Linked DNA regions of Homo sapiens: regions 1 and 2 are each linked to region 3. The links are contacts of gene promoters, found by promoter capture Hi-C in blood cells and fetal thymus (Javierre and others, 2016). All regions are on one chromosome and are shown on one strand. The core of a region is centred on a gene start or on the middle of the fragment in contact, and the rest is flanking DNA. Distances in the headings are between cores, read along the strand shown.

Region 1 (4,786 bases), core at 733-3,232, 890 kb before region 3:
TGCCAACATTATATATGTACTAAAACTGCCACTGGAGAGCATTCCTTTTGAAATGGAGTAAGTGCAATACAGCAAAGGGAACTGAAGGTTTGTGGTCATTCTGGATAACGTCCTATAGTTTTCTATTTCTTTTCACTCTTTTGGACTGTGTATGCAGAGTACTGGTAATAAACCCATGCAGCACAAAGCTTAAAAAAACAAGACACCCAAACAAGGAACTCAGAGAGGACTGGGCTCCGTACCTGTGAGAAGACAGCCTAAGACCAGGAACGCCGGATGGGAAGTCCCCATAGCTCTGGGAAACTAGAAAAGTCAAAAGTCAACAGAAACAGCATTAGCAAATAGAAACAACCCTGGAGCCTAGTTCTCTTTGTGTTTTGCACAACAGAAAATATTAACAGCATCATTTTAGTCAAACATGTCCCAGGTTAAAATTCAAGGTTCAAACAGTAAGACGCCTGAAAGATGAAAGAATCAATGGGGCCCCAAGATCATGGCGGGAGCTGCCTGAAGCCAAAACCTTCTGTGATTGCATGCAGTTTTCAATGGTCCTTTAAACCATTTATATTAAGAATTCAAACAACAAAGAAATAAATACATATATATATATTTTTTCTCAGCTTCCAAACTAGAGCTGATTTTCACGTTTCAATTAATAAAGAGGTCACACTCTCTACAACTTTTAGAAAAGTTGCTTGGGTTGGGGTAAATACCTTAATATTTCAGTGCCATTTTGACCTAGAATTTCTGAAACTTCCAACAATGTGTGTCATTTACAGGAGGCCTTTGTGATACTGAGGCACATACCAGGCTCAGACCTGGGCACCCAGCCGGGGTTCTTGCAGGAACCCTTGGAGAACCTGCTGGATCCCAAGCCAGGCTAAACAGGGCATGGAAAAGCAGGTACAAGCATGAAAGGAGGAGCAATAGAGAAAGTGAAGAAGGGAGAGAAAGTGGGAGAGATAAGTGTGACTAAATTCCTGTGCAGGGGGTAGGAGGGATGCAGTAGACTCTAGGATGAAATTAGAAGGAGGCTGATCATTCATTTTCATGTTAAAGTAAAAGCACCCGTGCAAACCAAGTTCAAGAACTTTCTAATTTTCTACAGCCAAATCTGGGAATGAAGAAGTAGAGAAAGAGACGGAAATTGAGTCAGACACAAATAAGGCAAAAAGTGGGCAAAAAGTGGGAAGGGAAAAGAAAATTAAAAGAGAAAGAAACTAAAAGGGGGCTCCTGTTGCCCTGGGGTAAAACCACTGAAGGGACTATTCTGGCAAACTGTGAAAAGACCTCTCTTCTTTATCTCTTCCCCATTCACTTTATTTTATCTCCCCCCTCATTTCTCCCTTGAAGTCACTGATAGTGGTCACTGGTGAAGTCAGTGAGAAGGAACTGTGAATGAACTTGTAGGTGCTAGGGCCAGTAAGTACCCAGGTATTGACTCAAGAAGCCACACTGAGGGGCCTGGGCAGAGCCCCCAGTTTTAACATAACCCCCCAAAAATCACCATGTTAGTCTTGGCCTGGGATGCACCAGATCCCTAAGTTGCTCCTAATGTCACATGGTGAATCCCAAAATTGGAGATCACCATGGGAGGCCACATGGGTTCTTGGCTTTACCCAGGAAGGAATTCAAGCAAATTTATTAAGAAAATAAAGGAATAAAAAAGGGTGGCTACTCCATAGGCAGAACAGCCACGCTGCTTAACTGAGTATACTTATGGTTATTTCTTGATTATATGCTAAACTAAGGGTGCATTATTCATGATTTTCCCAGAAACAGGGAGGAAATTCCCAGAACTGAAGGTTCCTTCCTTTTTCCACCATATAGGGTAACTTCCTGTCATTAATACAACATTTGTAAACTGTCATGGTGCTGGTGGTATCTTTTAGCATGCTAATGCATTATAATTAGCATATAATGGGTAGTGAGGATGACCAGAGGTCACTTTCATCACCGTCTTGGTTTTGGTGGGTTTCGGCTTCCTTCTTCATTGCATCCTAGGTTTTTGGGGTTTTTTAATTTGTTTATGAAACAGGGTCTTGCACTGTTGCCCAGGCTGGAGTGTACTGGCACAATCATAGTTCACTGTATCCTTGAACTCCTGGGCTCAAGCAATCCTCCCACCTGAGCTGACCCCCATGCCTAGCCCAAGAGCTGGGACTACAGGCCTGCACCACCACACTCAGCTCATTTTTAAAAAATTATTTGTAGAGATGAGGTCTCACTATGTTGTCCAGGCTAGTCTTGAACTCCTAGGCTTAAGCAATCCTCCTGCCTTGGCCTCCCAAAGTGCTGGGATTACAGGCATAAACCACCACACCCGGCCCGCATCCTGGGGTCTTTATCACCCGTATCTTGTGAAACCACCACACCCAGCTCATTTTTTAAAAATCATTTGTAAGGCAAATCGCTTGAACCAGGGAGGCAGAGGCTGCAGTGAGCTGAGATCGCACCATTGCACTCCAGTGTGGGCGACAGACTGAGATTCCATTTCAAAAAAAAAAAAAATTATTTGTAGAGGCTGGGCACGGTGGTTCATGCCTGTAATCGCAGCACTTTGGGAGGCCAAGGCAGGTGGATCACCTGAGGTCAGGAGTTCGAGACCAGCCTGGCCAACATGGTGAAACCCCATCTCTACTAAAAACACAAAAAAATTAGCCAGGCGTGGTGGTGTGCGCCTCTAATTCCAGCTACTCAGGAGGCTGAGACAGGAGAATCGCTTGAACCCCTGAGGTAGAAGTTGCAGTGAGCCAAGGTCATGCCACTGCACGCCAGCCTGGGCGGCAGAGCAAGACTCCATCACAAAAAAATAAAATAAAATAAAATAAAAATTATCTGTAGAGATGAGGTCTCACTATGTTGCCCAAGCTGGTCTTGAACTCCTAGGATTAAGCAATCCTCCTGCGTTGGCCTCCCAAAGTACTGGGATTACAGGCATAAGGCACCACACCCAGCTTGCATCCTGTGGTCTTTATGAAACCATTCCTACCCAACTCCTATCTCATCCTGTGACTACAAATGCCTAACCTCCTGGGAATGCAGCCCAGCAGGCCTCATCCTCTTCTTACCTAGCCCATATTCAAGATGAAGTCACTCTAGTTTGACCTCCTCTGATGCTAACTCATGCAATGGAGTGGGCCTAATAGGACTCAATTTGTTCCATCACTGACTTTGGAAGCTAAAATACGTATACATAATTACTGAATAAACTGTTTGTTGTTGTTGTTGTTGTTGTTTTAAAAAAAAAAGGAGGGAAGGGCGCAGTGGCTCACGCCTGTAATCCCAGCACTTTGGGAGGCTGAGGCGGGCAGATCATGAGATCAGGAGATGGAGACCATCCTGGCTAACACGGTGAAACCCTGTCTCTACTAAAAATACAAAAAATTAGCCGGGCGTGGTGGCAGGCACCTGTAGTCCCCGCTACTCAGGAGGCTGAGGCAGGAGAATGGCGTGAACCCAGGAGGTGGAGCTTGCAGTGAGCCAAGATCGCGCCACTGCACTCCAGCCTGGGTGACAGAGCAAGACTCTGTCTCAAAAAAAAAAAAAAAAAGAAAGGGGAGAAATTCAGCGTTTTCTTGTATTCCTGTATTTAGCCTGAGTTGGGTTTGGGTTGGTTAAACAGGATCCAGTAGATAATAGCCTAATTTGGTGGTGCCTGATCATGTATTTTGCTCTAAGGTGGCCTACATTGCAGAAATCAGAATTCTGCTTTATTGAATGCCACCAGGAAAATGGGAGAGGAAGAAAACACAGAGTGAAAGGTAGCAAGCTTCTAATGGGAAAGGGAGGTGGAGTAGATAGAACAAAAAGAAATCATTATTTACTAAGCCAAAGTTTGCATGTGCATGCTGTGTTTCTGAAGAATAACCCTGTGGTTACTTAGAGCTGATTTTAAGAAGGGGCAGTTGAGGCTCAGAGAGGTTTCGCAAATGACCCAAGGTCACACAGCTGGTGTCAGAGCCAAAATTCTAATACAAGGCCTGTGTGATGCAAAAGCTGTGCCCTCTCCACTTCACCATATGGTCTCTCTCAAGGGAAGGTCAGTGTTTTAGCCATGTCGCACCGCCCCCCACCCGGCCCAGTGCCTGTCCCTCCCCCACAATTTCCTAGGGCAAATTACACAACCCTCCCTTCCCTTTTCCCTCTCTGCTCCTCATAGCAGGAGAAGGACAATTACAGTGCTGTGAACCCAAATGCAATTCACACAATGCTGGCTGGCTGATCGCTTCTGAGGAGCCCGGCATGTGCCTGGGATGCAGGGCTGGTGTTAGGCACAGTGGGATCCAGAGCCAGGCTGGCCAGCCTGATTTACCACAATTAGCAGTAACACTTGTGTGCTTCTACATGTAAATATCAGCCTCCCACTGACAATCCACTCAGCAAACTTCAAAGGAGACCTCCAGAGCCAGCTTGATGTCGTCGTGGCTTTTATCACATTTAGATCCCGTATTTCTTTGGCAAGGCTTGCCAATGATGCATCTTTAAAGCATTCTCGAGCTTAAAAGAAGGGTTCACTGCTTTTCCTGCAAAACCTGAGGAGTGTTTTTCACTGGCCAGACCCCACCAGATTTCCCTGTGTGCATCCAGACATGGTGGACCCACTGCCAGGGAAGATTATTTACTGACATATAAAGTGGGCAATGAAAACAGGCTCTCTGAGCAAGCCATCAGGAGGCAAATACTGAGAATCAACATGTGTTTGTTGCTTAAGATTCCAAACTCCCTTCTCTGATAACAGCGGTTCCCTGGGTAGAAATCTAGGCCTGTTTGTGAAGTTTCATGT
Region 2 (4,600 bases), core at 493-2,992, 820 kb before region 3:
ACCTTGCCGTCCCAGTGACTCTAGAAGCCAAGGGGCAAGAGGATCACTTGAGCCTAGGAGTTTGAGACCAGCCTGAGCAACATAGTGAGGCCTCATCTTTTTTTTTTTTTTTTTTTTTTTTAAAAAAAAAGTCTGGGCACGGTGGCTCATGCCTGTAATCCCAGCACTTCGGGAAGCCGAGGCGGGTGGATCACCTGAGGTCTGGAGTTCGAGGCCAGTCTGGCCAACATGATGAAACCCCTTCTCTACTAAAAATACAAAAAATTAGCTGGGTGTAGTGGCAGGCACCTGTAATCCCAGCTACTCAGGAAGTTGAGGCAGGAGAATCTCTTGAACCTGGGGGGCAGAGGTTGCAGCGATCTGAGATCGTGCCACTGCACTCCAGCCTGGGTAACAAGAGCAAAACTCCGTCTCAAAAAAAAAAAAAAAAAAAAAAAAAAGCAAGTGCGATGGCTCACGCCTGTAATGTCAGCATTTTGGGAGGCCAAGGTGGGCAGATCACTTGAGGTCAGAAGTTTGAGACCAGCCTGGCCAACATGGTGAAACCCTGTCTCTACTAAAAATACAAAAAATTAGCTGGTGGTGGCATGCACCTGTAATCCTAGCTACTCAGGAGGCTGAGGCAGGAGAATTGCTTGAACTGGGGAGGCGGAGATTGCAGTGATCTGAGATCGCGCCACTGCACTCCAGCCTGGATGAAAAGAGCAAAGAGCGAAACTTCGTCTCAAAAAAAAAAAAAAAAAAAAAGAAAAGAAAAAGAAAGTAAAGACAAAAAGGGGGAATTTTAAGTCATAGGAATAGATGAGAGATGTCCAGAAAATGTGATGTATGTCAACTCAGAAGAAAGCAATACTAGAATACAAACGTGAAAAAGTCCAACATTTAATATTTGAGTAGAGAAGAACAATCTGAATGCTGTATTACAGACACTAGGGAAAAGAACGTCTTAGTAGAGAGCCATCAACAATGCTAAACACTAATGAGCTGTCAAATAAGAAAAAGTTGGCCGGTGCGGTGGCTCATGCCTGTAATCCCAGGCGTGGGAGGCCGAGGCAGGCAGATCATCTGAGGTCGGGAGTTCAAGACCAGCCTGACCAACATGGAGAAACCCCGTCTCTACTAAAAGTACAAAATTAGCCATGCCTGGTGGCACATGCCTGTAATCCCAGCTACTCAGGAAGGCTGAGGCAGGAGAATCGCCTGAACCTGGGAGGTGGAGGTTGCAGTGAGCCGAGATCGCGCCATTGAACTCCAGCCTAGGCAACAAGAATTAAACTCCATCTCAAAAAAAAAAAAGAATAAGAAAAAGTGAAAAGATATTTTCTGACTTACCAACATTGAATGGAGATCATGGGAAGCCTTAAGAATGGCTGGGAAACACGGAGGTGGGCCTGGAATGTCAAAATAAGATGTTTGTTTTTAGTACAGTCCAGTCAGCACTGGAGACCCACTGAAGGTCTTTGAGCAAGGAGATATGACTGTAGATGTGCTTAAGAGATATTAACCCATGGGCTGGCGCAGTGGCTTACGCCTGTAATCCCAGCACTTTGGGAGGCCGAGGCGGGTGGATCACGAGGTCAGGAGTTCAAGACCAGCCTGGCCAATATGGTGAAACCTTCTCTCTACTAAAAATACAAAAATTAGCTGGAATTAGCTGGGCGTGGTGGTGCATGCCTGTAATCCCAGCTACTCAGGAGGCTGAGGCAGGGGAATTGCTTGAACCCGGGAGGCGGAGGTTGCAAGGAGCAGAGATTGCGTCACTGCACTCCAGCCTTGGTGACAGAGCGAGACTCTGTCTCAAAAAAAAAAAAAAAAAAAAAAAATAGATATTAACCCAGTAGGGAAGTAGAGATCTGAAGGTAAAGTCTTGAAATAGGGCCTGTAGTTAAGAGAGTGCAGTAGTCCAGGCAAGAGGAAAGAGGGCCTGAACTAGGGTGCTTGAGGCAAACCTGGAAACTAAGAGGTACAGATTGTTTCAGTGATCTTTCACTTGCAAGTGAGGAAAACAACTCAATTTGGTTTAAATAATAATAGAAATTTATCGGTCTCATCAGCAAAAACTCCAGAGGCAATGTTAACTTCAGGCAAGGCTGTATCTAGCAGCTCGAATAATGTTTCCAAGGACCCATTTTTTTTCTATATGTCTCTTTTCTGCCTTCTATGGTCTGGCTTTACCGTTAGACTCCACTTTGTGGCTCTCTGGCAACTCTAGGATCTCCTTTCCTCTGCTTATAGAAAAATGACTTCTGGCTGGGCCTGGTGGTTCACACGTGTAATCCCAGCACTTTGGGAGGCCGAGGTGGGCAGATCACCTGAGGTCAGGAGTTCAAGACCAGCCTGGCCAACATGGTGAAATCCCATCTCTACTAAAAAATACAGAAATTAGCTGGGCCTGGTGGTGCATGCCTGTAATCCCAGCTACTCAGGAGGCTGAGGCAGGAGGATCGCTTGAATCCAGGAGGCAGAGGTTGCAGTGAGCCGAAATCGTCCCCACTGCACTCCAGCCTGGGCGATACAGCAAGACTCAGTCAAAAAAAGAAAGAAAGAAAGAAAGAAAGAAAGAAAGAAAGCAAGCAAGCAGGGAGGGAAGGAAGGAAGGAAGGAAGGAAGGAAGGAAGGAAGGAAGGAAGGAAGGAAGGAAGGAAGGAAGGAAGGAAACTTCCATAATTCTAGTTATCATTTTTTTTTTTTTTTTTTGGTGACGGAGTCTCACTCTTTCGCCCAGGCTGGAGTGCCGTGGCGCAATCTCGGCTCACTGCAAGCTCCGCCTCCCGGGTTCACGCCATTCTCCTGCCTCAGCCTCCCCAGCAGCTGAGATTACAGGCACACGCCGCCAGGCCCGGCTAATTTTTGTATTTTTAGTAGAGATGGGGTTTCACTGCGTTAGCCAGGACGGTCTCGATCTCCTGACCTTGTGATCCGCCCGCCTCGGCCTCCCAAAGTGCTGGGATTACAGGCGTGAGCCACCGCGCCCGGCGCAATTCTAGTTCTCATACCATGCAGGGAAATTGCCCAGCTTTTCCACAACAGAAGGCCAACAAACATCTCCTGGCATCTTGTTGTCTCTGACTGTGCAGCATATCACCCCAGAACCAACACAAGTGACCATGGGACATAAGCCAATCAGAGCCCACCCCTGTCATTTGGAGTAAAGTTGGTTCCACCCAAATCACATGACCAGGAATGAGGGTTTTACACTGTGGAGGTTTTCACATTGTGGAGTAAAGGTAAAGGGAAAACTGGAAGATAGATGCCAGGGAAGTAACCAATAAATGATCATTACCAATATGAAACATAACTTTTCTTTTTATTCTTTTTTTTTTTTTTTTGAGACAGAGTCTTGGCTCTTGTCACCCAGGCTGGAGTGCAATGGCATGATTTTGGCTCACTGCAACCTCCACCTTCCGGGTTCAAGCGATTCTCCTGCCTCAGCCTCCCAAGTAGCTAGGATTACAGGCACCTGCCAGCACACTGGGCTAATTTTTTTGTACTTTTAGTAGAGACGGGGTTTCGCCATGTTGGCAAGGCTGGTGTAGAATTCCTGACCTCGTGATCTGCCCACCTCGGCCTCCCAAAGTTCTGGGATTATAGGCGTGAGCCACCACACCCGGTGAAAAGTAACTCTTCATTGCTTCACTCTTTGAAATTTTGTTTCAAGAACTTTCAGATAAATTTACTAATGGAGTTAATACAACTCAATTCAGTTATGGTAAAAGTATTCTAATTAAGATGAATTAGCTAGGAAATGAATTAACTTACAGATAAAGTAGTTGAGTGTTTTAGAAGAACATACAGCATGTGGAGCTAACTATTGAACAAGAAGAATTCATTTATAGGAAGGAAGAGTTTTGATAAAGAGATTAGCCTCATTTGTAATTATATTAAAAATATGCCAAAATAATTTAAAATAGATTATCCTCCTCAATAAGTTAATTGTATTTCTATACAAACCCCATGAGTTTTTCCTATTTTGTTTATTTAGAGCCTCCAATCTGCAAATCAAGATCTATCTGTAAATCCCAGCATCTTCTCTTTTGCACTATGTCCCTGCAACTATGCCTACCTCCCTACAGTTCAAGGACAGTAGCCAGAAGTTCCCAAAATCTTTTAGCAACTTTTGTATCACCCTCTCAATCCTAAGACAGGGAGAAATTAAAAGCCTCCTGCTGCAGGCAAACAGCTAAGTAAGGCTGCTTTGCTGATCTTGGCTTGCTGTCTTACTGCTCTAAGATGGCCTTTGCAAGGCTCTCCCCCATGTCATCTCTCCTCCTCCAGCAGAATAATCCAAGTTTATTTACATGGCAGTAGCAAGGCTCCACGAGGGAGAATGAGAAAGTACAAAACCTCTTGAGATCTAGTCTTGGAACTGGCATGCTGTTTCTTCTCCTGTATTCTGTTGGCCAAAGCAAGTTACAAGTTCAGCCCAGATGCAAAGGATGGGCAACAAGACTCCATTTCAGAGTTTCACTCTTTCTCTCAGGCTGGAGTGAAGTGGTGCTATCTCAGCTCACTGCAATCTACACCCCCCAGGTTCAAGTGATTCTCCTGCCCCTCAGCCTCCCAAGCAGCTGGGATTATAGGCGCCCGCCACCATGCCTAG
Region 3 (4,252 bases), core at 1,343-3,842:
GGTTATACAACAATGTGAATGTACTTAATGCCACCAAAATGTACATTTTACAATGGTTAAGATGGTGTGACTTTTATGTTACACTTATCTTGCCATAAGGAAACAAACAAACAAAAATATGTCCCCACTAAACTCTGTATTTATTCCGCAATCTGCTTCTCTTAATGGTTTTTCAAATCTCAATGACTGGCATTCATCAGTCATCCAGACAGAAAGCTGGGTGCTAACCTGAAATTCTCCTTCCGTGTCACCCTCTCTGTCAAACTAATAAGCAAGCCCTTTGGCACTATATTCTTAACGTCTATTCATACTCCCCACTCTGTCCATCTGCTTGTTACGCTTTTCAACTCTCTCACCCAGATTTGCTGCTGATACTATTATTTTCTTAACTGCTCCCTCTGCGCTAAATTGCTCCATTTCAAATTATTTTCCATGTTTTGACTAGAACCATTTTTTTTCTAAAATCCAGATGTGAACAAATTATTTCCATACCCCAAAATACATTAATACTTCCCCACTGGCTGCTACTACTTAGAATGGAAAATAAGGCTCTTGCTGATCTAGCCCATTTCTTTCTTTTCTAATTCCTTGCTCTTATTTCTTCTTGCGCCTTTTTTCATACAATGCACTCCAGCTATAGGAAACCCTTTGTAGTTCCAGAGAACATATTGTACTGTTTTATGCCTCTACGACTTTGTTTATGCTGCACTCTGTGCCTGGACTGCTAAGAATCCTCCTCCCCATCCTGTCCACCTGGTGAACACCTGGGTTTCTTTGAAGGCAAGTCAAAACTCATGCCCTATATGAAGCTTTTTCTGACTTCTTCCTTTTTCTCTTAGAATTTATTTTTCCTCCTTCTTGACTCCTATACAAAAAATTTTAAAAAGTATTTGCTTCTGTAACATTTTATTGCACTTGTTTTACATGTGTGGGTCCCTTTATTTCATCATAATTATTTTGAAATCAGGGCTGTGGTTTAGTTTTCTTTATATCCTTAAAACCCAGACAGTGTTTGGAATACTGTACGTATTTATTAAAAATTGGCTGGATATATTATTATGTGGAATTTTTTTTTTTTTTGAGACAGAGTCTCGCTCTGTCGCCCAGGCTGGAGTGCAGTGGTGCCATCTTGGCTCACTGCAACCTCTCCCTCCTGGGTTCAAGTGATTCTCCTGCCTCAACCTCCCGAGTAGCTGGGATTACAGGTACCTGCCACCATGTCCAGCTATTTTTTGTACTTTTAGTAGAGACGGAGCTTCACCATGTTGGCCAAGCTGGTCTTGAGCCCCTGACCTCAGGTGATCTGCCCACCTCGGCCTCCCAAAGTGTTGGGATTACAGGCATGAGCCACCGCGCCTGGCCATGGATATTAATTGAACATTCATTCAACGAACATTTATTGAACACCTGTTATAAGTGTTGGGGATACCAAGCATCTAGTGCATAATTTAGCAAAACAGATAGTTTAAAGAAAATAGTGTTAATACTTACCCCATGATATGGCAAGTACTTAGCGAATGTATCAATTGAGTGGTTTGATAGGTGGGGGAAGTGAGAGGTGATAGGGTGATAGTGGTGGTGAGTTAGAAAAAGTCTCTCACAGGCAGTACTGTTGGAATGATTATTTTCGGTAAGTTTACCAGGTAAATTCTTTGTGGATTAGGTAATGAATTTTATTAACCATTGCATCTTTGAAGCTTAGCACAGAGATTATACTTAGTAATGTAAGTATATTGGTGGAACAAACAGAACCCATAAAACATTTTGGGTTCAGCCTATTGACTTCATTGTATCGGTACAATTTTTCTCCATGTTGGGAATAGCTGGAGAGAAATTGAGAAATCAAGAAGGATGTTGATGCTTTTTAAAGAGTGTGGATGTATCCTATAGGCAACTGGGCTAGGAGAAGCTTTTAAGCAGGAAAGTTGTAGGACCAACTTTGTTTATTAGGAAGAAAATAGAATTGGAGGGTAAAGAGATCAAAAGTCAGAAAATGTTGGGAGATCATTGCCTGGGTGAGCGATGATGTTGGGTTTTTGTGACAGCAAAAATGGAGAGGAAGGGCTGAATTCTGAGAGTTTTTAAGCCTATAAGATGTAGTGACGATGAGATGAGGGAGGAAAGATGGAGAAAGTGAAAATGAGAACAACAGGGTTTGTTATGAGGCTTGTGGGCGATAACGTATGTGACAGCAATCTATAAACCCAAAATATTGCACACGGTTGTTTTTATTATCTTTTTCTAGTTGCTCTGAGTTTAGATTGAGAAGGTGGCTGTACTTTTGGAGACGTGTTCATATCTAAGGAAGATACCAAATTTCGGATTAGGTTTTTATTTCGGAGACTTTTCAAGGAACATGAGAAGATTATCTGAGAAGATTATCTGCGCAGACAGGCCGAGCGACGGAAAGAACTCAGTTCAGCTCCATCTCAGGAAACACCTGATCTCCACGAGCTTTTGAGGAAGCCCGGAGCCACAGAGCCCCACCCACTTCTTTCCCGACCGCGCCATCCTTCCTCACTCCCGGCCTCCTCTCTAGCCAATCACCGCTCAGTTTAACGTCATCACCGAGCGCCATCAGGGAGCGTGTCAGAGGCCGACCACGTGTACTGTGGAGACTGTCAAAGTCTCCCGGAGCCCAATTTCCGGAAGCGGTGAGTTCTGAAAGAAGTTCCTGCACCGTAGTTTCCCAAGTCTGCGAATCCCCAACCATGAGCGCCTCGGGCGTACTGTCCTTTACCCAGCAAGGATGGGAGCAGGTGCTGGCCAAAGTGAAACGGGCTGTGGTTTACCTGGACGCCGCCTGCGCCGAGAGCCTGCACTGGGGCTGCGGATCCACCCGTCTCCTGGAGGCGGTGGGGGGTCCTGACTGTCACCTGCGAGAGTTCGAGCCCGACGCAATTGGTGGTGGAGCCAAGCAGCCCAAGGCAGTGTTTGTGCTGAGCTGCCTGCTGAAAGGCCGGACCGTGGAGATCCTACGGGACATCATCTGCCGCAGTCACTTCCAGTATTGTGTGGTGGTCACAACCGTGAGCCACGCTGTCCACCTCACAGCTAATCATGTCCCAGCGGCGGCAGCGGCCGAGATGGAGGGGCAGCAGCCGGTGTTCGAGCAGCTGGAGGAGAAGCTGTGTGAATGGATGGGCAACATGAACTACACGGCCGAGGTGTTCCATGTCCCGTTATTGCTTGCCCCTGTTGCTCCCCACTTTGCCTTGACTCCAGCTTTTGCATCCCTTTTCCCACTGCTACCCCAGGATGTGCACCTCCTTAATAGCGCCCGACCGGACAAGAGGAAGCTGGGAAGCCTGGGTGATGTGGACTCCACTACGCTAACCCCAGAGCTGCTGCTGCAGATCAGATGCCTAGTGTCAGGCCTCAGTTCTCTGTGTGAACATTTAGGAGTACGGGAGGAGTGTTTTGCTGTAGGTTCCTTAAGTCAGGTCATCGCTGCGGATCTGGCCAATTATGCCCCTGCAAAGAACAGGAAGAAGACTGCTGCAGGCAGGGCATCAGTGGTTTTTGTGGACAGAACCCTGGATCTCACAGGTAAGTGCATTGCTCTGGAGTTCTTCATTACCATTCCCCACATTGCTGGGACTTTCATTGATTCAGCATATATTTTATTGACCTTTTATTATATATTAGATTGAGGATACAAAGATGAACTAGATGGACACGGTCTCTAATCTCACAGAGTTTATTGTCTAAAGTGGAATACAGACAGGTGAATTAGCAATTACAATAACATTTGTTAAATGCTGTAATGGGTAGAAATGTCATAAATGCCCATTGCCTTGTTAAACAACAACTTTAGCCCAAGATTATGCTGACAGGGAGGAAAACTGTGCACCTGGGAAATTTTATTTTTAGAAATTTACGAATGCCAGTATTCACAACAGTCCTTCATAAGAAGACTCTGGTTTGTTGGAGAAGTGTTAATAGATGACCCAGCGGAAGGAAAACTACTGCACAAGAAAACATAAAATTATTACAGACAATTGAGGTTTAGGAAATGAGTGTTCAAAAGTGAGGCTGAACTTAAATGTTACTAGTAAATGAGATGAAATAGAATTGTAGAAAATATTTTCAAATGTTTATTGATTTATTTTTAGCTCTCATTGTATTAAAGATTAAGTAAATAATCTCAAATTGTAATAATGTATTATTTACACAAAAGAAACAAATGTAATCCTTAAAGCAGATGAAGAAAAGACACTTTCTGATGTTTGATATGTTATTTTCAAAGGTC

Evidence for each region. Contacts are between HindIII fragments. The CHiCAGO score rates a contact against its expected background, and 5 or more counts as called.
Region 1: a contact is called between a fragment that was not itself captured here and the fragment with the promoter of SCFD2 in region 3, in 1 of 17 cell types (neutrophils). The highest score is 5.5, in neutrophils.
Region 2: a contact is called between a fragment that was not itself captured here and the fragment with the promoter of SCFD2 in region 3, in 1 of 17 cell types (neutrophils). The highest score is 5.6, in neutrophils.

Annotation. Positions count from the first base shown.
Region 1 is chr4:54,254,274-54,259,059 of GRCh38, reverse strand. It overlaps PDGFRA (platelet derived growth factor receptor alpha), which reads right to left. Exons shown (of 23, transcript NM_006206.6): 2 at 243-303. The coding sequence starts at 291. Among named protein-coding and RNA genes, the nearest start is that of PDGFRA, 27 kb to the right of the region's middle. RefSeq lists a silencer at 2,393-2,619. The HindIII fragment of the contact is 3,584 bases long and covers 191-3,774 here.
Region 2 is chr4:54,178,713-54,183,312 of GRCh38, reverse strand. No RefSeq gene overlaps it. Among named protein-coding and RNA genes, the nearest start is that of PDGFRA, 48 kb to the left of the region's middle. The HindIII fragment of the contact is 7,036 bases long and covers 1-4,600 here.
Region 3 is chr4:53,364,401-53,368,652 of GRCh38, reverse strand. SCFD2 (sec1 family domain containing 2) reads left to right here and starts at 2,592. Exons shown (of 9, transcript NM_152540.4): 1 at 2,592-3,549. The coding sequence starts at 2,712. RefSeq lists enhancers at 2,627-2,676, 2,697-2,896, 3,117-3,166. The HindIII fragment of the contact is 6,997 bases long and covers 1,912-4,252 here.